6 separate regions of the Homo sapiens genome follow, and all the other regions are linked to region 5. The links are contacts of gene promoters, found by promoter capture Hi-C in blood cells and fetal thymus (Javierre and others, 2016). All regions are on one chromosome and are shown on one strand. The core of a region is centred on a gene start or on the middle of the fragment in contact, and the rest is flanking DNA. Distances in the headings are between cores, read along the strand shown. Region 1 overlaps UGCG (UDP-glucose ceramide glucosyltransferase). Region 2 holds the start of UGCG (UDP-glucose ceramide glucosyltransferase). Region 3 holds the start of SUSD1 (sushi domain containing 1). Region 4 overlaps SUSD1 (sushi domain containing 1). Region 5 holds the start of INIP (INTS3 and NABP interacting protein). Region 6 overlaps SHOC1 (shortage in chiasmata 1).

Region 1 (4,499 bases), core at 1,611-4,110, 790 kb after region 5:
GCACTTTAGGAGGCCGAGGTGGGCAGATCACTTGAGTTCAGGAGTTCAAGACCAGCCTGGCCAACATGAAGAAACCCCATCTCTACTAAAAATACAAAAATTAGTGTGCATGGTGGTACATGCCTGTAGTCCCAGGTGCTCTGGTGGCTGAGGCATGAGAATCACCTGAACCCGGGAGGCAGAGGCTACAGTGAGCCAAGATCGCGCCACTGCACTCCAGCCTAGGTGACAGAGCAAGACTCTGTCTCAAAAACAAACAAAATAATAAAATTATTGACCTATTCTGTACTTACTAGCAAAAAAAATAAAATTAAATTAAAAAGCCCTAATCTATAGGTTGAACAAAAAGAATAAACCAACAGAAGTTAGGTAATAAAAATACTATGGCTTCATTTAGTTGTCTTACCGGTCAGCTATCGCTTTGGCCATAAAGTAATCTTCGGCAATGTACTGAGCAAAAGCTATAAGTCCTCCTGCTTGATCCAACACATCTTTTCTCATTAAACAAGACATTCCTGTCACACATTTGAAACCAGTTACATTGGCAGAGATATAGTATCTTGGATGTGAAGTTCCAAAATATACCTGCCCAAAAAACCACAAACGTGTATGATTAGAATTTCATGTTAAAAGCATGGTGTTCACGAACTGTTTTTCCCAATGGTTTTTTTATAAGTATGATTGAGTGAATATCTTATTATTCTTACGTAGACTACCTGAATAAAAAGTGGTAGACAATATTGCTTTCATAGAGCAAGCACAGTTAGTAAGCTAAAAATGCATCCAAATAAAACTTAATTTAGATACAAAATAAGGTAAAAATATCACTCATTGATATATAAAATATTAACAAATATTCAATGTATCTTGTTTTTAGGGTGTTCATGTAAATATACACACACATCTACTTTACTGGGATCAATATACATATTTGTATGTTACGTATATGTGTGTATATATACATGCATGCATACACACACCACCCATAGGTATATCAACCTTCGGGACAATCCTATTTTTTTGGGGGGTGGGGGGTGGGGAGGGGACACAATCCTATTTCTTAATTCCTTTTCTTGCATCCTTTTGTAGCTAGCTGCTCCCTCTCCCTTAGTCACTAAGATTCTTCCCAATTTCTCCATTTTTTTCAATGTATTTTTCATAACGGGGATACTAAAATTCTCTCATCCGCTACTGCCATTTCTCTGCATATACTCTGAAGTCATAAGATATATACGCTGATAAATCAATGGTAGAAAAGGACTGTTATTACCCTACTTAGTAGACATAAAATCCTATTTATTATTTACACCTCAGATATGTTGCCTTTTCTAATTAGCCTGAAATAAAGAGTAGTCATCTTTCTTAGGAGTTACACACACAGTGCAGAGCAAGAGAATTCTAAGGGGCAATTATGATTATGATTCTTGCTACCTACCCTGAACCCAGACTCCAGTGAAGCCCTAGTGTTTGTGGGACTGAACTGAACCTGACTTCTAAGAACAGAGGCACATATCTTAATTCCTTAGTAGTTATTGAGGTCTTAGGAATGAGATGTTAGTCACTGAGCTGAATGTGCTCTTTACAGTTGAGAATGATTAATTCTAAGTATGGCAGAGTGACTTCCAGAGATTAAACCTACACTAAGGCAATGGGTGTATTCTGGGAGATGTTTATTGACATACACATCACAGAGATGTTATTGACATCTGTATCAATTTGGATATTTCTAAGACAAAAATACAATTTGGTATACTAGAACACATTGTATTTTATTTTAAAGTGGCTACTCAGTTTCTTTTTCTAAACAAAAATTCTGGTATTTAAGACTAACAATTTCTTGCAGTAGGACAAATATATTTACAGCCAATATTAAGAAAGAGCTCATGGTTCAAACTGCCAAAGGCCAGATGCAAGTTCCCACAATGTACCTTTACCCCTTCAGATATGTGGCAATCATAAGACTGCAATTCAAAAGAATATAAATGCAGATATGCTTAAGAGCAAGTTGACATATTTAAAGACTGAAATCACATATCTGTCCTTATAACATTACAACAAATTTTTCCTCCCAAATGTTTAACAGTACAGGAATGATTAACTCAAGCATAGGACACACATACGATGGCCTATGATACAGCCAATAAAAATTACTTTTATGAAAAGCTATTAATGATATGGGAAAAGCTTACAAAGTCACAAAAATAAGATACAGATTATTTTTAGAATACTATCTCAACAATGTTTTCTAAAGGGCCCAGAAGGGGGTGGTGGGGGAAATAAAGACTCCAAAGTGTCCAAATGATACAATGTTTATTTTTAAAACCAGAAACTTCCTGCCGGGCGTGGTGGCTCACGCCTGTAATCCCAGCACTTTGGGAGGCAGAGGAGGGTGGATCACGAGGTCAGGAGATCGAGACCATCCTGGCTAACACGGTGAAAACCTGTCTCTATCAAAAATACAAAAAATTAGCCAGGCATGGTGGCGGGCACCTGTAGTCCCAGCTACTCAGGAGGCTGAGGCAGGAGAATGGCGTGAACCCGGGAGGCGGAGCTTGCAGTGAGCCGAGATCGCGCCACTGCACTCCAGCCTGGGCGACAGAGCGAGACTCCATCTAAAAAAAAAACAAAACAAAAAAAACAAAAAAACCCCATAAACTTCCTGTAATTGTTAGGGTTCTAGGTTGTTGGTTTTTGTTTTTTTGCATCTTATACTTTTCCATTATTTATAGTTTCCTATGGATGTTACTATTTCTAAGTTGGAGAAAAAATAAAATGAAAACATAAGTTTCTCAGGTAATTATTAGAAATATGTTTTAAAAGGACATCAAATAGGTTTTATAAGGACTTGTATGAATACATTTTCTTTTGTGTATATTTGAAATACTTTGTGGTATTTTAAAAAGGTTCTTTTGAGGGCTGGGCGCAGTGGCTCATGCCCGTAATCCCAGCACTTTGGGAGGCTGAGGCAGGCAGATCACTTGAGGTCAGGAGTTTGAGGCCGGCCTGGCCAACACGGTGAAACCCCATTTCTACTAAAAATACAAAAGTTAGCCAGGTGTGGTAGCACACCTGAAATCCCAGCTACTTGGGAGGCTGAGGCAGAAGAATCGTTTGAACCTGGGAAGTGGAGGTTGCAGTGAGCCGAGATCGTGCCACTGCACTCCAGCCTGGGCAACAGAGCAAGGCTCTGTCGCAAAAAAAAAAAAAAAAAAAAAAAAAAAAAGGCTGGGGGGAGGGGGCCAGCGGTTCTTTTCAGATCGAATGTTTGAAAGAACAATATAAAGAACTGAACTCTAGAACAGGAAGTGAATACTACAAGGCAAGAGGTTAGACTGTGTTCAGCTGGCAATAAGACCGCAGGCATTTCCTGCGCACAGCTGTTCACTGCCAGGGTACAGTCAGGGTCCCAAGAATTTCCTCACTAATGAAAACAGCTGCTCTCAACTCAGGGCTTCTAGAACACAGCAGGTTCCCAAATGGACTTAATACAGTTAACTTGAGATACCTAATTCCAGCTCCCATAGTCTCAAGCTTCTGGGAAATGAGGGGTCTGATACTATGAACATGATTTATAACCACCATACTCACCTGCTCTAAGGTGGCAGCAAAGCCCTGTCTGTCTGCTACGTAAGGCAGCCCGTGAACCAAGCCTACTTTTTCTGTCATTTGATTCACCATGTCAGTAAGCGTATCTGGAATTACTACAATTTAAAAAAAAGGCAGAGAGGGGGAGAAAAGAAAATTTGTTTTTAGTAGAATGCCCATTAATATAAAATATATTTTGTGAATTGTTATTACATTCTTAATAAAATACATTATTTTAAACATATGGATCTAATAAAATGAATCTCAACCACCTTTCTGAGGAGAATACAAAATTTCAAAAGGGCCTAATTCTCGAAAGCTAATTTATACATTTTTTAGCCCAGTATATACCTACTATGTACCAGAGGCAGAATATACTTTGAAAAAGTTACCCCCTGTTGGAACTTCTAATTTGGAATAAGGACAATCTGTCCTAGTGGAAAAGGCTCAGGAGCAGAGGCTAAAGGACCTCAGTTCTCGTGCTGGCTTCTCTACTCTCCAACCATAGGAAATGAGACTATTTTCTCTGTGAGTATCAGATTTCCACACAGGAATGGAACGTGATTATATTGAACAGAGATCTGTACACTGAAAAACATATGATAGTAAATAATTTAAGATAGCAAATATGAAGAATGAACATCATCTCTGACCAGCTGATAGATCTGTAATGGTCTTGATTAACTCATAGGAGTGCAACATTTATGTTCATTTTCTAATTTGCATTTTAAGCTAATAAAAAATTTAAATTATTGCCCAATCTTTAGCAAACATCTCATATCATTTTTACATGACCTTATTTTTCATTTCCTCCAAGTCTTTAAGAACTAAATCTACCGTATAAAGAAAAGTTGTATTTGGACCTTAAATACTCATTCTAGGTCAGTGCTTCTCAACTGGGGGCAATTCTGCCC
Region 2 (4,351 bases), core at 365-2,864, 820 kb after region 5:
ACTTTTTCCGCAGTAAAAAGGAAAAAAAAAAAACCAAAAAACTAAAAGTAACTAATTTCTTAAAGTCTCTTCCACTAACATACACTCTATTCTAGTTCATGGTAACGATTACTATATACAATTGCTCTTTTCTCCCCCCAGACTAAAAATCCAAGTGAATCGATATCAGTAATGTGCTCTATATAATTTTTTCATTTCTTTACAGAGGCAGATTTCACCTTAAACAGTGGATATACCAAACTAGCCACATAACCCATGTCTCTATTCACGCCATCACCCAGTTCTATTTTACTTACACGCTTCGTCACAATCTCATAACCTTATTTAGATTTTATCTGCTCCTTCCTTCTAGAATGTAAGACTCATGAGGACAGGAATTCTGTCCTGCTCACCACCATGTCCCCTGGCCAATAACAGTGAATGGTATCTAGTAGGCCTCAAGAAGTATTTGTTAAACAAAAATGAAAAGATGTGGCCGGCACGGGGAGAGTACAAATCTACATAAAACAATAAAACGAGGAACTGAAAAAAGGAAAGAAAACCACGCTGAGATGTACAAGCTGACAGGACTCAAAGCTATCATGCCAGCTCGGAGGTTTGGTGGACATTTTTCAGGGTGGACAGGTGCTTCACACCTATCTAAGCGCATAGAGCCCTTCCAGGAAGAAGAAAATCCACAGAGAGGTGTCCAGATAGCTGTGAGCAGCTCCCAGAAAAGTGGACACAATCACCACCCTAACAGAAACGTGGCCCAGGTCGGGAGAAAAAAACAATACACCATACATCTCGGCCCAGATGAAAAATTACACGAATCCCCAGCACAATCAAACCAAGCCACCACCTTCAGCCTGACACGTAAGAGCAGTCTCCTTTAGCCTGGCTGGGCAGTCGCCTGCAACCCAGCAAACCCTTCCCACGCCCAACACTTTTCCCTCGCAAAGACCACCGCCACCGCCGGTCCGAGGGGCGAGGGAACGGGGGGAACAGCCTGACGATCAGCTTTCTCCACCCCCGCCCGAGCCCAGTCCCCTTCAAAGCGCAAACGTTTCCCATTCTCGCCTGTCTCCGAGGCCCGGACCCCTGCCCCGAGCCCCTCCTGCGGTCCCTCACTCACGTGTAGATGATAGCCATGAAATGCATCAGCCACAGCACCAAGAAGAGGACGAACCCGAAGACGGCCATTCCCTCCAAGGCCAGGTCCAGCAGCGCCATCCCCCGGCCCGCCGGACCGGCCCGGCCCGCTGCGGCCGCCAACACGGACAACGCTCCCGCAGGAGGAGGACAGGGTGGGCGCCCGGTGCGGGGGCGCGGGAGGCGAGAGGAAGGTGGGGAGAGGAAAGGGCGGAGGGGGGTGGGGACGGAAGGGGCGGGCAGGGCCTGCGCGCCCCCGCCCGCGCGCTCTCGCCTGCGCGCTGTCTTCGGCGCGCTCGCGGGCGGCTGCGGGTGCTGCGGTCTCCCGGCTCTGGTCGGGGCGACCGCGGTCCCGCGCTCCGGTTCGCCTCTCCCGAGCCTCGCGGCCGCCCACCAGACCCTGCGCGCGGGCACCTCCGCCGCCTCTCCGTCTCGCCGCCGGGCTCCCGGCCGAGCAGCTCCACCGCCGCAGCTCCGCGCACTAATCAAAACCGGCGGCTCGCGCCCCACTCCTCGGCGCGTCCCGCCCCCGGAACCGCGGCGCCCGCCTCTCCCAGGGGCGGTGCCCCCATCGGTCCACGCCCACCCTGTCGCCCGCGCGCCCGCTGCGGCGCCGGCGAGAGCGCGCCGGGGAGATCGTGTCCTGCTGCCCGCAGGACGCAGGCCGGGCTTCCTCCGGCTCCTCGCTCCCGCTGCCGCCCACCTAGGCGGAAAGCGCTGCAGCCCTGGGCCGGGCTCCCTCGGTGTCGGTGGCAGCTCGGGACCCTGTGCCTGGCTGGAGGCTGCTCTCTCTCCGTCTGGCCCTGCTGTTCCTGGGTGCCCCAGAAAAAGACACGGGTTCCGGGCAGCTGCCGGAGCTTGTCTAGAAATCCAACTTCCAACGCCGCGTCTGCAGCCTCCCCGCCGGGCACTGCTACTGCTCGGAGCAGCCAGGCCCTCCAGGCCACGTTCCTGGGCGCAAGGGATGCCCATTGCCTTCCCTCTTACTGCTTTTAATGCTGTGGGATCTTGGATCAAAAGGGACCGGAGAGTAAAATAATCTCCATGCGCCTCACAGATCTCTAAGCGCCTTAGCGACCGTGTGTATTATAAAAAGAAATTCTCAAATTCAGAATTAAAGAATCAGTTGATATTGAAATTCCCTAAGACTGCCATCCAATACGGTAGCCGCATGTGGCTAAGTGAGGGTTGGAAAGGCAGCTTGCCACTCTGTGGAGTAAACAGTACACCAGATGTGGAAGACCATCTCGTTAGTAAATTTTATATTGATTGCATGTTGAAAAGGTAATATTTTGGACATACTACATTAAATTAGGTAAATTATTAAGTTAATTTCTCTTTTTAAATACTTTGGCTAGCTACTAGAAAATTTTAATTGTACGTGTGGACAGCACAGCTCTAAAATGGGAAGAAATGTCACTTTGGGTAGTAAGGTAACTAAGTATTTGTCCTAATTTTAAGTCATCCCAAGAAGATGCTAGTACTCAATGTTTGTGTTTCTTCAATCTAGATGAGTTTATACTATTTCTGCATTGTTTTATGTTTATTGTTGCAAGTGATTTCCTTTTAAATAATCCATGACCTCCCTTGAGATATTTCAGAATTGAATTCAATTTTGAAAAGAAGTTGTGGCTGGGCGCGGTGGCTCACACCTGTAGTCCCAGCACTTTGGGAGGCGGAGGCAGGTGGAGCATGAGGTCAGGAGTTCAAGACCGGCCTGGCCTAGATGGTGAAACCCCGTCTCTACTAAAAATACAAAGAATTAGCCGGGCGTGGTGGCAGGCGCCTGTAATCCCAGCTACTCCGGAGGCTGAGGCAGAGAATTGCTTAAACCTGGAGGGGCGGAGGTTGCAGTGAGCCGAGATCGCGCCACTGCACTCCAGCCTGGGCGACAGAGCGAGACTCTGTCTCGAAAAAAAATAGATGAATTTAAAAAAAAGAAAAGAAGTTGTTTATTATTGCTGTTTATGGTAGTTAATAGTCACTGAATGATCTACCTCAATCTGCAATTAAATGACAAACTACAACTAGAAGAGTTAATGTCCGAACCATTCCTCGATTAACATCCTTGGCTCCACTGGTGCAGAATCAGTGGGAAAGAACAATGCTTCAAAATCAAATTCCCACTGTTGAGAGTTACTGGCTGATAAAAATAGCAGGATGGAGGGCCAGGCGCAGTGGCTCATGCCTGTAATCCCAGCAGTTTGGGAGACTCAGGTAGGAGGATTGCTTGAGGCCAGGAGTTTGAGACCAGCCTGGGCAACATGATGAAACCCTGTCTCTACAAAAAAAAAAAAAAAAAAAAATTAGCCAGGCATGGTTATGGCACCTATAGTCCCAGCTACCGGGAAGGCTGAGGTGGTAGGATCACCTGATCCTGGGAAGTGGCGGCTGCAGTGAGCTGTGATCGCGCCACTTAACTCCAGCCTGGGTGACAGTGAGTCCCTGTCTTAAAAAAAAGTGGAATAGAATTCTAACATCGAAATAACGTTCCAAACAAAAATTTACGATTGTAGTTAATTCTAAGGCACACTTCAAAAAAACACTTTAACAAATTTTAATTTCTCTGAAATGGGAATGCATCTCACAGTCAATGCCATCTTAGAGTTAATTGGCGTTTTTTCTTTTTTTTTTTTTTTTTTTTGAGGTGGAGTCTCGCTCTGTCGCCAAGGCTGGAGTGCAGTGGCGTGATCTAGGCTCACAGGAACCTCCGCCTCCTGAGTTCAAGCAATTCTCCTGTCTCACCCTCCCCAGTAGCTGGGACTACATTTGCACACCACCACACCCGGCTAATTTTTGTGTTTTTAGTAGAGACGGGGTTTCACCATATTGTTCAGGCTAGTCTCGAACTCCTGACCTCGTGATCCACCTGCCTCGGCCTCCCAAAGTGCTGGGATTACAGGCGTGAGTCACCGTGCCCAGCCAATGGCTTGTGGTTTTCTTTTACTCAAATATAAAATAATAGTGCATCTTAGTGATATATAAAATAATGCTGCATCTTATCATTAAATGCCCTCTTAGATTTGAGGAACACCAATTGCTTAATTTAAGCATTGTTTTATATTCTGCATTTTTTCAAAAATGTTTTCTGGAACCTTACAACAAAGGATTTTATACAGTATGACCAATAACACAAAAAAAGAGGCCAAAGAAATGTGAAAGTAGATATTCTTAAGAGTTAACAAATTTGCTAAATTGAGTATAATCAGTAGATTAAAGA
Region 3 (4,288 bases), core at 1,047-3,546, 540 kb after region 5:
ATTTTGCAAGGGGCCACAGTGGGGATGAAGTGGTATAGGCTGGTTAAAAATCTTAAGTGAATGGTATATTTGTTGAAACAATGACATGATTTCCAAGTTTGAAGTTTATGGAGAGCTGAACTTAAAAAATTTGTCTAAATAATAGAGACACACCGTCCATCTATTGCTCCCCAAACAGGTGCCTGTCTTTGTTGATCAAAAATAATTTTCAAGAAAGCCTGCTAAGAAAAGAGCTTGTGAGGCCAGATGCAGTGGCTCACTCCTGTAATCCCAGCACTTTGGGAGACCAAGGTGGGAGGATTGCTTGAGCCAAGGAGTTGGAGACCAGCCTGGGCAACATAGCCAGATCTTGTCTCTACAAAAAAAATTTTTTAAATGAGCCAGGCATGATGCTGCGCCCCTGTAGTCCCAGCTACTGGGAGGTTGAGGCTAGTGGACTACCTGAGCCCAAGAGGTTGAGGCTGTGGTGAGCTGTGCACTCCAGCTTGGGCAACAGAACAAGACCTTGTCTCCCCAAGAGGAAAAAAGAGCCTAGGAAGATGAGCTTTTTCTTTGTTTGTTTTTGTTTGTTTGTTTTTTTAAGAGAGGGGGTCTCACTGTATTGCCCACATGGGCCTTGAATTCCTGGACTCAAGCAATTCTCCTGCCCTTCAGCCTCTTTAGTAGCTGGGACTACAGGCATGCCACACTTCACCCAGCTTGAAGTTGATTTTTAACTACTTGTTAAGACTCCACAACTTTAGCCCTTATATGGGTGTGTTTGAAAGTGGTGAGATTTACGGCAGGCTCATGGCAGAGAGTAAACAAGTGAGGATATGGGGTGAAGTAGTGGGGTGCCTGCTCTCGGCTGCGCTCCCACAGACATCACAAGCTCAAAGCCTTCAAACCGGATCTTATTTATTTCCTTCTCCCCGACTAGTCATAAAACCTAGTGGATTCCACTCTTACACACTGCCCTCTTCACACTCATTTGTCAATGCCCAGCTGCAGGACACATCTATCTCTATCTCTATCTGTCTGTCTGTCTGTCTGTCTGTCTATCTATCTATCTATCTATCTATCTATCTATCTATCTATCTATCTATCTATCTGTCTATGGAGTCTCACTCTGTCGCCCAGTCCGGAGTGCAGTGGTGCGAGCTCGGCTCACTTCAACCTCCGCCTCCTGGGTTCAAGCAATTCTCTCGCCTCAGCTTTCCGAGTAGCTGGGATTACAGGTGCCTGCCACCGTGCCCACCTAATTTTTTTTTTTTCAGTAGAGACGGGGTTTCACCAAGTTGGCCAGGCTGGTATCGAGCTCCTGACCTCAAGTGATCCACCCGCCTCGACCTCCCAAAGTGTTGGGATTACAGGCGTGAGCCACCGCACCGGGCCAGGACATGTCTTCTATTGCCTGATTCCTGCAGCAACTCCGGGCTGGACTCTTTGCCTTCCACATCCCAACCCAACCCCAATCCCAATTCCACAGAACAGACAGAGATGTGTCAGTGATGAAGTCATTCACTGCTTGAAACTGTGACAGCTTCCCGGCGACCTCCATCACTTGGGTTAGGAGGGCTAACTTCCCTCTGCAGCTCAACGCCCCTCTCCAACCCTCTGCTCTCACTCTAGGTCCCCATTCCCCATTTCTACAACAAACTCCCGCTTAGATTCCTCCCCAACGTCCTTCTCATCCTTGGGTCTTGGTTTACTCCTTCCCTTGGGATGAGTACGGCTGTGATGGAGGTAGGGGCTGGCATCAGCGCGTCCCAAGCCGGGTGTCCTCAGAGCAGCGGGGACTGATGCCAGCCCCTCCCTCCATCACAGCCCTACTCTCTCTCACTCCCGGTGACCAGGTGTCACCTGGTCAAGTGTGTCGCCCCTGGGTGGCCTGGGTCTGCGTCTTCCGACCTCTCATCTGGGCCTTGCGCTGTGGTCACCTCATCCAGCTCCCTTTCACGTCCTGGAAGATTTCCGCCCCTTGCTCCCCTCACCCCTCTCCCCGGGGGTGCCTCCCTGAGCCCTCGAGTGGCTTGAATCCTCCGCAACATTTCCTCCCCAGCACTCTCCGGGGCTCTGCGTCCAGCTGTGTCATTATCCGATGAGTGTCTGTCCCCCTTTGCGAATGTGAGCGGCGAGAGGGCAGCAAGTGCGGAGCCAGAGACGGACGCGGAACGGGCGTGTCCTAAGCCCAGGCCCCGACAAGAGGAAGGACCCGCGCTCTGCGGCCTCCCGGGGACCCCGCAGCGCCCCCCGCTTCCCTCGGCGGCGCCGGAAGCCGCCGGCTGGTCCCCTCCCCGCGGCGCCTGTAGCCTTATCTCTGCACCCTGAGGGCCCCGGGAGGAGGCGCGGGCGCGCCGGGAGGGACCGGCGGCGGCATGGGCCGGGGGCCCTGGGATGCGGGCCCGTCTCGCCGCCTGCTGCCGCTGTTGCTGCTGCTCGGCCTGGCCCGCGGCGCCGCGGGAGCGCCGGGCCCCGACGGTGAGTGCGGGCTGGGACGGGCACGGGCGGCCGGCGGGGCCCCCGGCTGGGCCTCGAGGACTCTGGGCGCACGGACGCTTCCCCGCCCCTGGGCCGGGCCGGCGCGGTGCCGAGGCGTGGGGCGCAGGTGGGGCCCGCGCCGGCCGTTGGAGATCGGCAAGGAGGAGCTCAGAGAAGCGGGGGGCTCCCCGCCGGGCTTCCCTGCCCCCGCCCGACCCCGCGACGCCGGGGGACGCCGGTTTTAAGGCGGCCTGGCCGGGCCCCCAGGGACCTCCACTGCCCAGGAGGCGGGGTGGGGGCTGGGCGCGAGCGCGGACCCGGGCAGGGCGGCGCCCGGGGAAGGGCGGGGAGGCCAGGGCGTTCTGCGGCGCTGTCACGCTTCCGGCTCTGCGGTGGCTTTTGCATGACACATTTTTGACCCGAAGCAATTTTCTTACCACTTTTAATTTTTTCACGTTGTTAGAGAGCCGGATGCTAAATATGGTGAGAAAGACGCGTAAGGAAGAGTACAGGAGTGAAGCCATTAATTCACTCATTCATTCAACAGATGGCCCTTGAACAGCTTCCCTGTGCGCGATGAGGGCGGGCAGTGCGGGCCCTCGTGGAGCTCATTGTCTGGAGGATTTAGACCAGCAAATGTTCTATTTCCAAGCAATCGAGGGAGTTGTTTTTCCTCCTCTGCAAAATGCAGTGTTGAGCTGAGTAGGAATTACACAGAGGATTCAGACACGCAGGGGAGGTGACATTCATCCACATAACTGTAATACAAGGCAGAATGGCATGGGTGCCATGAGAAGGTGTGGGTGGTGAGGGCAGGGAAAGGGGAATCGGTGGTGACCCTTGAGCTGGGCCATCAATGATTGGTCATATTTGGATATGGGAAAATGTGAAAAAGGTATCCCAGCTCATAGCAGAAGGCACTGTCACCTCTCCACAAATGAGTGTAGAATGAATGAATTCCTTCAGAATTCAGGCCCGGGGGAGAAGGGAAGGAAGCACACGGAGGCACCAGAGGCAGAGGGCAGAGTGCCTTGATTGGCAGACCTAGGCCTTTGGACTTAGCTGTGCCTGGAAGCCACTGGAAGCCGTCTCAGGGAGTGACAAGAAAAGTGGGTCTAGCCAGTTCTAGGCGCTTCGGGAGCCACAGGTTACAGTGCAGACATGGCCAAATCCAAGCACCACACCACACACAACCAGTCCCGAAAATGGCACAGAAACGGCATCATGAAACCCGGATCACAAAGATACGAATCTTTTAAAGGGGTGGACCCCAAGTTCCTGACAAACATGCGGTTTGCCAAGAAGCACAATAAGAGGGGCCTAAAGAAGATGCAGGGCGACAGTGCCAAGGCCATGAGTGCACGTGCTGAGGCCTTGCCCTCATAAACCCCAAGGAGGTTAAGCCCAAGATTCCAAAGGGTGTCAGCTCTTGCCTACGTTGCCCACCTCAAGCTTGGGAAACGTGCTCGTGCCCGCATTGCCAAGGGGCTCAGGCTGTGCCAGCCAAAGACCAAGGTCAAGGATCAAACCAAGGCTCAGGCTGCAGCTCCAGCTTCAGTTCCAGCTCAGACTCCCGAAGGAGCTCAGGCCCCTACAAAGCCTTCAGAGTAGAGATCTGTGTCTGCCAACGTGAGGACAGAAGGATTGTCCCCCTTGGACTGCCATCTGCATGGGGCTGATGTCCTCCTTTGCTATTTGTATAAGTAAACTTGAGGCGGGGGAAAGAGGGTCTAAGGAACCCCCATCTTCCTTACTAAAACCAAACGCTGATCCTGAAGTGGAAGGAAATTTCCATGTGATGACATACAAGGAGACTTGTGGTTGAGAA
Region 4 (4,120 bases), core at 1,515-4,014, 640 kb after region 5:
GTTTCGCTATGTTGGCCAGGCTGGTCTCGAACTCGTGGCCTCAAGTGATCTGCCTGCCTTGGCCTCCCAAAGTGCTGGGGTTACAGGCGTGAGCCACTGTGCCCGGCCCACTCAAATAATTCTTAAGAGGGGTCCTCCGATTAGGTATCTTTGGATCTGAAATCTTTCATCAAGACTGAGTTTACCTAGATATAAAAGTGGTATTACTTTGAGACTGCTACCACTAATTTCTAAATTAAAATACTGTTGAACTCATGCTAACACTTATCCTTGGAAAAATGGCTCAATTAAAAGGTAGCATTTTTTCTATAGAGTGTAAATTGATTTCTCATTTCTTTTCCACTACAGTAAAACAGACCATCAGTAACATTTCAGGATTTAATGAAACCTGCTTGAGATGGAGAAGCATCAAGACAGCTGATATGGAGGAGATGTATTTAGTAAGTGACTGAAAGTTACTGTATTTATAGATGGTTGTCTTATGTGGGAGGCTTAAAAATACCCACAAACCTAAAAATCTACATCTATAACTATCATTATCAGTAGACGATTTACTGTGACAATTGCATCAAGAAGCAAGAAGATGGCCACTTCTGTGTATTTAAAGACAGTGGCTGGGCACAGTGGCTCACATTTGTAATCCCAGTACTTTGAGAGGCTGAGGCGGGCGGATCACTTGAGGCCAGGAGTTAAGACCAGCCTGGTCAACATGGTGAAACTCTGTCTCTGCTAAAAATATAAAAATTAGCCGAGCGTAGTGGCGCATAGCTGTAATCCCAGCTATTCAGGAGGCTGAGGCAGGAGAATAGCTTGAACCCAAGAGGTGGAGGTTTCTGTTAACCAAGATCGCGCCACTGAACCCCAGCCTGGGTGACAGAGCAAAACTTTGTCTCGAAAAAAAAAAAAAAAGGAGGGGGAAGACTGGGATGAACTTCTACTGGAAGAAATTAAGTAAGAACAAAAGGGTGTCTCTTGGCCGAAGTGTCAGGGTGGTTAAGGAAAGGGTAGGGTCACCAGAAGCTGGCAGGAAGAGGAGAAAAACTGTTCTCAGGTTCTAGCAGACCAGCTACGAGTATTCTAATTCAGGTCCTGCTTAGTTTGGATTCCTAATATTCTTTCTAGGAAAATGTTCTTGTCCTTGCTCCTGCAGTTTTGCCAATAGACTTTCTTGTTGTGTATGTGCACTGTATGTGTGAGAATAAGGAGAAAGCTGCCAGTATTGGGACCTTAGCCTTTTGTGTGTTTTTATTTAAAAATATATTTATTATACAAATAATATTTTAAGTACAATATTTATAGTATTGCAACTCTAATATTTGCTTACTGCTGCATTTCACCTTTTGAAGAAACATTAGAGTCCAGAGAGAGAGAGAGAGGAAGAAAGCTCATGAAAACGGGAAGGGGCTGGGCGCGGTGGCTCACGCCTGTGATCTCAGCACTTTGGGATTCGAGGTGGCAGATCACTAGAGCTCAGGAGTTTGAGACCAGCCTGGGCAACATGGCGAAACCCTGTCTCTACAAAAAATACAAAAATTAGCTGGATGTGGTGGCATGCATCTGTGGTCCCAGTTACTTGGGAGGCTGAGGAGGGAGGATCACTTGAGCCTGGGAGGTTGAGGCTGCAGTGAGCCGAGGTCATGCCACTGCACTCCAGCATGGGTGACAGAGTGAGGCCCCCATCTCAAAAAAAAAAAAAAAAAAAGAGAAAGAAAAAGGAAAAGGGGAGGTTTCAAGGCATCTAAAGCCTTTTAGGCCAACCATTCACCCAGTGAGCTTTTTTATGTTTCAGTTCCACATTTGGGGCCAGAGATGGTATCAGAAGGAATTTGCCCAGGAAATGACCTTTAATATCAGTAGCAGCAGCCGAGATCCCGAGGTGTGCTTGGACCTACGTCCGGGTACCAACTACAATGTCAGTCTCCGGGCTCTGTCTTCGGAACTTCCTGTGGTCATCTCCCTGACAACCCAGATAACAGGTAAATCTTGAATAACAGCATTTGGATTAACAAAGTTACCACAGAATTGTTCATAGGTCCTGATAAAGAGGAACACTGTTGCTTTTTATCATTATATAATGAACTTTAACAGGGAGAGGAGGAAGGACATGGAATTGGAGAGGTGCCTTAAGGCGCCTCTGTGACTGTTATGTTTCATTCTTTTTTCTTTTTTTGAGGCAGGGTCTTGCTCTGTCGCCCAGGCTGGAGTGCAGAGGCACGATCATGGCTCACTGCAGCCTTGACCTGGGCTTAAATGATCCTCCTGCCTCAGCCTCTTGAGTAGCTGGGATTATAGTTGTATAGGCCACCATGCCTGGCTAATTTCTGTATTTTTTGTAGAGACGGGGTTTCACTATGTTGCCTAGGCTGGTCTCGAACTCCTGGGCTCAAGCAATCCACCTGCCTCGGCCTCCCAAAGTGCTGGGATTACAGGTGTAAGCCACTGCGCCCAGCCTGTTATGTTTTATTTTTAAAAAGATACCTAATAACCACAGGGGAGGTCTGTGGGGAGGGGGAGGGGGAAGATACCTGAAACAAAATGTCAGCATTGATGAAATGTGGGTAGTGTGTCCATCCATGGTGTTGGTTGTATAGCTTCTGGATATTTAAAGCATTTAAAATACTTTATACTTAAACAAAAAATGCTTGTGGCTCTTTCTTTCTCAGGAATATTTAGTTGGCATCCTGTTGCAAGTACTTTAAGAGTAGATTACTAGCTAGGCACAGTGGCTCAAACCTGTAATCCCAGCACTTTGGGAAGCTGAGGAGGGTTGATCATGTGAGGATCATTTCGAGATCAGCCTGGCTGACGTGGTGAAACCCCACCTCTACTAAGAATACAAAAATTAGCTGGGTGTGGTGTCAGGTGCCTGTAATCCCAGCTACTCGGGAGGCTGAGGCAGGAGAATTGCTTGAACCCAGGAGGTGGAGGTTGTGTTGATCTGAGATCGCACTCCAGCCTAGGCAACAAGAGCAAAACTCCATCTCAAAAAAAAAAAAAAAAAAAAAAAAAAAAAAGTAGATTACTATCAGGGGACAATGATTGTAGTCCTCCGGCTATAGGGCCCCAGTAAATTCACTTTCCACTCATTTTCTCCTCCCTCTTCACATCTGTGACCCCCACTTCACACATGCTCTGAGCAAATACTAAGCATATTAGCTTCTTGATTCTTATTTCACTGAGAAATTAGAAGTAGTCAGGTGAGGACTTCCCACGCTCAGCCCTGCCGTTCCTCCTTGCATCCTGTTCTGCCTCCCTTCCTGTCCCTGCTCGTGTGTAAGGCTGCCATCCCCTCAACTTGTGCCTTAGATCCCATCCCTTCTTCCCTGATCAGCACTTCCCCTCAATACAGAATTATCCCCAGCATTGCCTAGCATGTTGCAACATCCTCCTTGTGAACGAAAAGAAAGAAAAAATGAGCAGACCTTCTTTGAGCCCATATTTGTCTTCAGCTACTTTGCCTTCTCTCTGCCCCTTTCTATAAAAACTCCTTGAAAGAAATGGCTGTTCTGTAGGCTCCACAGCCCTACCTCCTGTTCTCACTTTCACTCATCCCACGTGGGAAACATACGTCTTCATTGCTTTACTGAAAGGCTCTTCGTTTGATCTCCGTCTTGCCAAATCCAATGGCCAGTTTTGTTCTTATCTGATTTCTTCGATAGCGTTGACACTCCCTCCCTCTTGAAACCCCCTCTCCCTTAGTTTTGGTTCCTTCTGCCTTGCTGTCCCCTCTCAGTCTTCTTTGCTAGCTCCATCTACTTTTATGACCCCTCTTCAGCCTCCTTTTCTTCATTATCTACCCTTTCTGCTTAGGTGATCTCAACCAGTCTTATGGCTATAACTATTACCTATATGCAGAGGATTTCCAAAGATCAATTTCTAGTCCCAGCCTCTCCTTTGAGCACCAGACTCCTATATCCACCCAACTTCTACACATGTCCTATTGAACATCTAATACGCAAATCAAACGGAACTTGTGATTTCTCACCTCTGCCCTCGCCCCCAAATCGGTTTCCACCCAGGCTTCTCTGTTTCTATCTGTTACTTTCTGTCTGTTATTGGAATTTCTGTTCACCCAATTGTTCAGACCAAAAACAAGTCCTAATTGGTTCTATCCCATCCC
Region 5 (3,967 bases), core at 875-3,374:
TGAGGTCTCACTATATTGCCCAGGCTGGTCTCAAGCAATCCTCCTGCCTTGGCCTCCCAAAGTGCTGTGATTACAGGCATGAGCCACCACACCCAGGCTCAGCTGATCTACTGACCACTTGCCAAGACACCCAGTAAAACAGATTGTTCATTGTTTATATTCTAATAGTCAACATTTATTGAGTTCTTATTATGTGCCAGGTGCTATTCTAAGTGATTTACGTATACCCAATCACTTATTTTTATTCCCATTTTATAGATGACAAAACAGAGGCACCAAAAGGTTAAACCAGGGCTCACCATCATTAAGTGGCAAAGCTCGAATTTGCATTCAAGTAAACTGACTCACTATTAACCACTGTGTTAGAGGTTAACACAATGAGGCAGAAGTTCCAAAAACTCTAGGAGAAGACAGAAGGGTTTCAAGGGCTATGACCTACCAAGTAAAAGGCAAAAGAATTGGCAGCAAGTTAAATTTATCTTTCTCCTGATAATGTTCTTTCAACTCTCAGAGGCTGAATTTGCTAAGAAATTATAAAATGTTGTTTAGGGTTAGAACTGTTTTTACTCCCACCTCCTTAAATAAGCTTTGTTCAGAATGTCCATTTGAAACTTAGACTGGAACTTTCTGTGCCCTAGTTTCTATATTAGCTAGGCCACAAAACAAAAAAAAATTCTAAGGTTCTATCAGCCATATAGATCTCAGTCATCTTTTTAGTCATACTAGAACTCACCAAGTCCTCTTAACTGAAAGGACTCCTGGCCTACCATCAAAATGCTCATGTGTTAGGCTTTATATCTGGATTAAAGTCAAGTCAGCAAGAACTGGTCTCAGAGGAATTCATTCCTCCAGAGCAGAGGCAATGTGTGAGATTTAAGAACTCAGGCCTTAGCATCTGGCAGATCTTTAAATTTGAATCTTAGCTCGCTACTTGACATAGAGCAAGAAACATGAGTCTCAAATATAAATCAGGGAACAGCAGGACCAGAGCTGATGCACAGGAAGCACCTCGCATTGTAGAAGGCACTCAATAGCTGCTTGGTATAGAGTAAATACATGCTTGGTTTTCAGTAAATAAATACTTGATATTGAAACGATTATTTCAGTCATTGATCCATGCACAAGAAAATTGTGCATCATAAACATTTTACTCTTGAGCAAACATCAATTATTAAAAACATATGTTCAAATTCATTATCCATTCTATTTAATTAAATGCTTGAGGCGCTTGGGGAGCTTACATTTGTGATTTAAGTCTGTGCGTTTTTCAAATGTATCTTTCGGAAGAGATTAAGACACTGCAATTTTAAGCAGGGCAGGTGGCTCACGCCTGTAATCCCAGCACTTTGGGAGGCTGAGGTGGGCAGATCCCTTGAGGCCAGGAGTTCAAGACCAGCCTGGGCAACAAAGCGAGACACTGTCACCATAAAAAATATTTTTTTAAATTAAAAAGAGTGCAATTTGAACACATGTCAATATACGATTACCTTTTAATTCAAATGTGTAGCTATCTACTGTGCTGGAATCAGGTGGGCAGCAGGTGATCCCACTAGTGGCAACTTGGTGTTCTGCGATGTGGCACATCCACTTCTTAAATGCAGATTATTGCACTGTAATAAAAATCCTCCATATTCAGTGCTTTCATTGTGTATAATTATGTAAACTGTAGACAAAAAATATTCCTGAATTTGTGTGTGTGTGTGTGTGTGTGTGTGTGTGTGTGCGGATGCGCAATCCGAGATGGTTGTTAAAGCTCGAAAGCGAGTTTAGCTTCTAGAGTCGCCCCTCCTCCGAGGCCCAGCCGAGGTGGACTCGCACCGTCGCAAGACCGGCCAGGCGGTGGCAATGAATAAAAAGCCAGTCTTGGTGCTAGGGACCCAGGTGTTCTCCGTCCCGCCCCTGCCTGGCAGCCCCGCCCCTCCCCCGCCCCGGGCCACGCCCCACCCTGGCCCAGCCCCCAAAAGTACCGTTTGCATCTCCCGTGAGCCTCTTCGACTGTCACTCTTTGGAAAAAAAAGTGACGTCTGCACTGAGGTGGCCGCTAAAGTGCGAATCACGACGGGCGGTGGCCGTTGGGTCCCGGCGGGAGGCGGGGTTTCCGCTCCCTGGGGCGCACGTCAGTCAGGAGGCGGAAGCGCAGCGGGGGCGGGAAGGTTGTAGTGCCGCGAGTTGAGCTCCTCTTGCCTAAGTGGTCGCGCCCCCTTTAAGAGCAGCGATTGTAAGGAGAGGCGGTCCCGGTGTCCTCGGGTCCCAGGTAAGTACGACAGTCTGGAGGCACCGGGCAATAGAAAAGTGTGGCTCCGGTGCTAACCTGTCGCCGCCGTCTTTGTTGCTACAGGCAGCGACCTCCCTTCCGACCTTGCCACCTAACATTTCTGGCTCCTACTTGCTTCCTTCGTCTCGTTCACAGCCCGGGCCCAGCCGGCTCTGCACATCCGTAGGCAGGGACCTTTCTGGCACGCCAGTCTACCCTGTCACAAGATGGCCCTGTTGTCCTCCAGTCCTAACCCCGCATTGCTCGCTCTGTGTTTCAGCCGCTGGAGACACCTAACGATTCATTTACTAAAAACCGGTGTCTGTTTTCTATCCCTTGTGTCTTTCCCGGGCTCCCTAGACTAAGGCATCACTCTTTGCTGCCAATGAAATCAATTCTTTGCCTCCGGCACTGTGCCCACCTTTTAAAGAGCGGGTTTGTTAAGCTTTTTTTTTTTTTAATTAATAGTATGGTTGCTTGAATAAGACTTTATTTTCCCTTCTGAAAGCAGGATTAGGGTCTTGCTCATCTTGGATCTCCCCAGGATTTAGTACGAAAGCACGAAGTTTGGAAACCAGCAGCCCAAATAATTCCTACTAGCTCTATGACCCTGGGTACGGTTTCCTCATCTATAAAATGGTGATAAATAAATAAAGGAACTAATTTCGAGCATGTTACACAGTGTATGGTGCAGAGCAGATACAGTACTCCTTTACCTTTTTTAGCTTTCAGTGTACACAGTAGTTTTTGGGTATGTGTTTTAGACGAATGCAGAGACACCATAGATGAATGATTTTTCTTCCTAGCACCATGATTATATTGACTCTATCAATTGGTTGATATATTTGGTAAATACAACCTAATGACGTTTATTAAAGACAGTAATGCTAAATGGTATGAACATCTGCAAGAATAAACAATGCCGTATTTAATTAAATGCTTGAGGCACTAGCAGAGTTTACATTTGTTTCAGTCTGTGTACATTTCAAATGTATCTTTCTTTCTTTTCTTTTTTTTTTTTTTTGAGACCGAGTCTCGCTGTCTCGCTCTGTGGCCCAAACTGGAGTGCAGTGGCGCGATCTCGGCTCACTGCAACCTCCGCCACCCGGGTTCAAGTGATTCTCCCGTCTCGCCCTCCCGAGTAGCTGGGACTGCAGGCGCTTGCCACCACACCCGGCTGATTTTTTTTTTTAATTTTATTTTTAGTAGAGACTGGGTTTCACCATGTTAGCCAGGATGGTCTCGATCTGCTGACCTCGTGATCCGCCCGCCTCGGCCTCCCAAAGTGCTGGGATTACAGGCGTGAGCCACCGCGCCCGGCACAAATGTATCTTTCTGAAGAGATTAAGAAACAGCAAACATTTCATTGTAAGGAGGCTAGCTGTTCCTTTTAGTTTGTGATTAAAATATGGTGCATTGTATATGTGTGTACACATATTTTATAGGTGATTGTGAAGTGCTGACCAATTGCCACTGGACATACTTGAAACAAAATAGGAAAATGGCAGCAAACTCTTCAGGACAAGGTAATGACAGCAGGAATTTCTTTACTATGAACATTTCCCCAATATAGTAAATGTATTTGAATAAGAGAAAATTTAGCATAGGGCAGTTACTGTAGCCAGAATTTAAAAAATGAATAGCAGGCCGGGAGCGGTGGCTCACGCCTGTAATCCCAGTACTTTGGGAGGCCAAGTCGGGTGGACTGCTTGA
Region 6 (4,370 bases), core at 139-2,638, 960 kb after region 5:
TGATCACAAGCTTAGATGTTATCAACAATGTTTTTTTTTGTTTTGTTTTGAGATGAGTCTTGCTCTGTCGCCCAGGCTGGAGTACAATGGCGCAATCTCGGCTCACTGCAACCTCCGCCTCCTGGGCACATGCGATTCTCCTGCCTCAGCCTTGCTGAGACTACAGGCGTGCGCCACTGTGCCCAGCTAATTTTTGTATTTTTAGTAGAGACATGGTTTCACCATGTTGGCCAGGCTGGTCTTGAACTCCTGACCTCAGGTGATCCACCCGCCTCGGCCTCCCAAAGTGCTGGGATTACAGGCGTGAGCCACTGCACCCGGCCAATAACTTTTATCATCGTTTTACCTCAACTTTAATTTTAATGATTATGTGTTTTGGTTGGCTACATTTAGTATGTAACTTGCTTTTAGTAAACACTAATTAATGTATTTTTTTTTAAGGGAATGTTTCTCTCTTCAAGAAACTTTGGAAGCTTTTGTGAAAGAAGATTTTTGTATGGATAAAGTGAACTTTTGTCAAGAGAAACTAGAAGATACAATATGTTTAAATGAGGTTGTAATACTGGCTTTCAATAATATTTTAGTAAAAGTAGTGAGGCACATTTTTGTAAAATTTGTGTAATATACATTGTCTACAATTGTCAAATTAAAAAGATTTTATAATGGAATGAACATGTATCAATTAAGAAGTCAAATTTACTTCTAAATAGTGGTTCTCAGCCTTGGCTGTATGTTGGAATTACCTGAATAGTTAAAAAAAAATGTTGAAGCCTGAGATATATTCTGATAAATTGGTCTGGTGTGCAGGCCAGTCATAGGGAACTTTAAAATCTCTTCCAATAATTGTAATCAATATACCTGGTATAGGAAATTAAGTAGTCATGTCTAGTTTAAAAATTGACACCTGAACTAGAAATATTGATTTGTGAGTTATACACAAAAAATAGTACTTGAGCTAATGAGAATATTGCAAGAGTAAGAATATAGAGGGTCCAAGACTGAATTTTAGTTTTCTGCCAGTGTTTAACAAGGATGATAGCATCTTTTGCATATTAAAGGCCAAACTTCTCAAAGATGCATTTAGTTTCAATAGCACACAAAATGGTCATAATATCAGTATGTAAAGAATTCTAGCTATTGCGATTGCAATAACTTTTTGCAGCTGGACAAGCTCAGAAATCTAGGCCCATATTGATTAGATGCGTTCACAAAGCTACTTTAAAAAAACATTTTTTGGCCGGGCGCGGTGGCTCACGCCTGTGATCCCAGCACTTTGGGAGGCCGAGGTGGGCAGATCACGAGGTCAGGAGATCGAGACCATCCTGGCTAACATGGTGAAACTCTGTCTCTACTAAAAATACAAAAAATTAGCCAGGCATAGTGGTGGGCGCCTGTAGTCCCAGCTACTCGGGAGGCTGAGGCAGGAGAATGGCGTGAACCCAGGAGGCGGAGCTTGCAGTGAGATCGCACCACTGCACTCCAGCCTGGGTGACAGAGCGAGACTCCATCTCAAAAACAAAACACAAAAAACATTTTTTTAGGACAACTTAAAATGTTTTATATTTGGAGATTTTAATGGACTTAAAGCACTTAAGGGGTTTCCTTACAATAAAAATTTTAACATGATGGTAAAAAGGTTAATTCACCAATAGGCCCCATTCCTCCAGTACCTCTTGCTTCCCAGGTTAACCCTGAGAGTTGTGGACTTAGTCTCTCTTGTTGAGGAGTCAAGTTCTGTTGGAATGAAAGAGAAACATACTCCATGGATCACAGTAAAGATCTATTCCATTCCATGATCTCATTTCACTTCTCACCATTTATTATCTCTCATCTACTGCAGTGACTGTTTTTAATTTAAAATGTTTACAATTTGCTATTAGCCAAAAAGAAGCTATTTCTGCATCTAGGGATATTGTACACCACTAATGTAATGAGTGACCATAAAATACAATACTCAGAGAGAACATTGCTTATAATAGAACGTATTTTTAGCTGCTACATTTCTGTTTTTTTAAAGTATATATAGCTTTAACAATTTTGAATGTGGATTTAGTTTAAAATTTGGCACATCATTTAAGCAAATTTTGTCCACTTATGATTTCGAAAATATTTATTTGGAAAGCCTCTCTAAAAACTTTTTTAAACTATGTTTTTTCAGCCGTCAAGTTTTCTTATTGAGTATGAATTCTTAATACCTCCAAGCCTCAAACCAGAAATTGATATTCCATCACTCTCAGAACTGAAGGAGTTATTAAACCCAGTGCCAGAAATAATAAACTATGTAGATGAAAAGGAAAAGCTTTTTGAAAGAGGTGAGAATTAATTGTAAAATGTATTACTTGTAAAAACCACTTAAGAATGTTTGTTACATAGGTTCTTGTTTATTAAAATTTTTCTGAACCTCCAGATTTTGCAAAAATGTTCTGCAAGTTACATGTTGAAATCTCAGGATTATTTTTGATGAGATTATTTTCTCATTGTCATTTTCTTGTTGTTGTTGTTGTTGTTGTTGTCGAGACAAAATTTCGCTCTTGTTGCCCAGGCTGGAGTGCAATGGCAAGATCTCAGCTCACCACAACCTCCGCCTCCCAGGTTCAAGCGATTCTCCCACCTCAGCCTCCCGAGTAGCTGGGATTACAGGCATGCACCACCACACCTGGCTAATTTTGTATTTTTAGTAGAGATGGGGTTTCTCCATGTTGATCAGGCTGGTCTTGAACTCCTGACCTCAGGTGATCTGCCCGCCTCGGCCTCCCAAAGTGCTAAGATTGTAGGCATGAGCCACTGCACCCAGCCGTCATTCTCTTTGTATGACTTTCAGGTTTAAAACGTCTCTGAAATTTAACCATTTCAAGATAATTATACAAATAAAACTAAAACACCTATGACTATACAAATTTTTGAAGAGTTGTTTTCTTATAAACAATAAAAACATTATCAACTTCTATACTGACATTAGTTAACTATGGAGAGGCTCACCATAAAGAGCTCAGAGTATGGATTCGTGGAGTCAATGACTAGGAGAGTCATAACTTAGAACTTAGATGGTTTCATCCCATTTAGTCTTAGTAAATTTAGTAAATATTATTGAGTTATTTTTAATGACAGTATAAGCCCAAATATTTAACTGCCCTCTCATAAATTTCATTTAAAATGATCAAAGATATATAATATCATGGAGGAAAGGAAGGGGGATCTGCGATATCCATTGAGAACAGGGATGCTTGCCATGAACAGACCACAGACTTGAAGGAATTCTTACGATTAAAACTAAATCAGGGAATTACTGTTCTGCCTGCAAATCAAAGCAAGGGAATGAAAAGCCAACCTGGGAAAGTAGATCAAATCCATACCAGAACTTGCAAATATAGTAGATCTCAAAATGCAGGGTGGGCCATAGGCTTATTGGCAGGACACAAATCTCAGCTCCGTAAATCAAATGTAAAGGACAACAAATGACTTTACTGAGTGATTATACTGTTAAACTCCCAGCCTTCACTTGACTCGGCTGCTGTACTAAGTAAAACAGAGTCACTGCCACAGAGGACTTCTAACAAGGAAACTTATACACATTATTGAAAGGTCAGGGGGTAGGCAGTGTCCCAGGTACCTTTGGGTTGTCACAACAATAATAATAAAAGTGCTTAGTACAGCAATAAAGTTGCCTGCTACAGGGATATCTCAAGCCATAACATCCTTCCTATTTCCCATGCTCAAAGTGTAAGTAAAACTATATAGATTTGCCTACTCTGAACATTCAATAAAAAAGGAATCATATAATATGTCATCTGTGACTTATTTCACTTAGCATAATATTTTCAAGTTTATTGGCATTATCCAACGTATCAGTACTTCATTCATTTTTATGGCTAAACAATATTCCATTGTATGGCTATAGCACATTTTGTCTATCTGTACATCTGTTGATAGATATTTGGGCTGTCCTTTTAACTTAAAAGTAATCCTGCTATGAACATTCATGTACAAGTTTTTGTCCACACATATGTTTTCATTTCTCTTGGATATATACCTAGGAGTGGAATTGCTAGATCAAATGGTAACTCTATGTTTAACTTTTTGAGGAATTGCCAGACTGTTTTCCAAAGTAACTACACTATTTCATTCCCACCAACAATGTGTGAGGGTTCCAAATTACCTACATCCTCTCCAAAACTTGTTATTATATAACTTTTTTATCGCCATCCTACTAGGTGTGAAGTGATATCTCATTGTGGTTTTGATTTGCATTTTCCAGATGGATAAGGATGTCAAACACCTTTTCACATACTGTTGGCTATTTGTATATCTTCTTTGGAGAAATGTCTACTCAGATCCTTTGCCCATTTTAGTTGGGTTATTTTTCTTTTTAT

Evidence for each region. Contacts are between HindIII fragments. The CHiCAGO score rates a contact against its expected background, and 5 or more counts as called.
Region 1: a contact is called between a fragment that was not itself captured here and the fragment with the promoter of INIP in region 5, in 1 of 17 cell types (fetal thymus). The highest score is 7.0, in fetal thymus.
Region 2: the fragment with the promoter of UGCG here is called in contact with the fragment with the promoter of INIP in region 5 in 3 of 17 cell types (naive CD4 T cells, total CD8 T cells and fetal thymus); the score reaches 6.6 in naive CD4 T cells.
Region 3: a contact is called between the fragment with the promoter of SUSD1 here and the fragment with the promoter of INIP in region 5, in 2 of 17 cell types (fetal thymus and total CD8 T cells). The highest score is 5.6, in fetal thymus.
Region 4: a fragment that was not itself captured here is called in contact with the fragment with the promoter of INIP in region 5 in 1 of 17 cell types (fetal thymus); the score reaches 5.9 in fetal thymus.
Region 6: a fragment that was not itself captured here is called in contact with the fragment with the promoter of INIP in region 5 in 3 of 17 cell types (megakaryocytes, erythroblasts and fetal thymus); the score reaches 6.5 in megakaryocytes.

Annotation. Positions count from the first base shown.
Region 1 is chr9:111,925,586-111,930,084 of GRCh38, reverse strand. UGCG (UDP-glucose ceramide glucosyltransferase) reads right to left here. Exons shown (of 9, transcript NM_003358.3): 5 at 3,589-3,701; 6 at 407-585. Among named protein-coding and RNA genes, the nearest start is that of MIR4668, 4.3 kb to the left of the region's middle. RefSeq lists a silencer at 3,288-3,447. The HindIII fragment of the contact is 1,347 bases long and covers 2,187-3,533 here.
Region 2 is chr9:111,894,077-111,898,427 of GRCh38, reverse strand. It overlaps UGCG (UDP-glucose ceramide glucosyltransferase), which reads right to left and starts at 1,614. Exons shown (of 9, transcript NM_003358.3): 1 at 1,115-1,614. The coding sequence starts at 1,212. RefSeq lists silencers at 1,170-1,259, 1,370-1,959 and an enhancer at 1,580-2,163. The HindIII fragment of the contact is 9,149 bases long and covers 1-4,351 here.
Region 3 is chr9:112,173,305-112,177,592 of GRCh38, reverse strand. It overlaps SUSD1 (sushi domain containing 1), which reads left to right and starts at 2,296. Exons shown (of 17, transcript NM_022486.5): 1 at 2,296-2,460. The coding sequence starts at 2,358. It also overlaps the pseudogene RPL29P20. RefSeq lists a silencer at 2,178-2,837. The HindIII fragment of the contact is 4,774 bases long and covers 1-3,914 here.
Region 4 is chr9:112,076,394-112,080,513 of GRCh38, reverse strand. It overlaps SUSD1 (sushi domain containing 1), which reads left to right. Exons shown (of 17, transcript NM_022486.5): 11 at 349-440; 12 at 1,790-1,976. Among named protein-coding and RNA genes, the nearest start is that of LINC02977, 38 kb to the right of the region's middle. RefSeq lists an enhancer at 3,324-3,423. The HindIII fragment of the contact is 5,993 bases long and covers 1-4,120 here.
Region 5 is chr9:112,716,274-112,720,240 of GRCh38, reverse strand. INIP (INTS3 and NABP interacting protein) reads left to right here and starts at 2,124. Exons shown (of 5, transcript NM_021218.3): 1 at 2,124-2,254; 2 at 3,700-3,780. The coding sequence starts at 3,756. RefSeq lists a silencer at 1,913-2,072 and an enhancer at 2,443-2,542. The HindIII fragment of the contact is 2,113 bases long and covers 589-2,701 here.
Region 6 is chr9:111,754,267-111,758,636 of GRCh38, reverse strand. SHOC1 (shortage in chiasmata 1) reads left to right here. Exons shown (of 28, transcript NM_001378211.1): 7 at 442-553; 8 at 2,159-2,312. Among named protein-coding and RNA genes, the nearest start is that of SHOC1, 38 kb to the left of the region's middle. The HindIII fragment of the contact is 1,826 bases long and covers 476-2,301 here.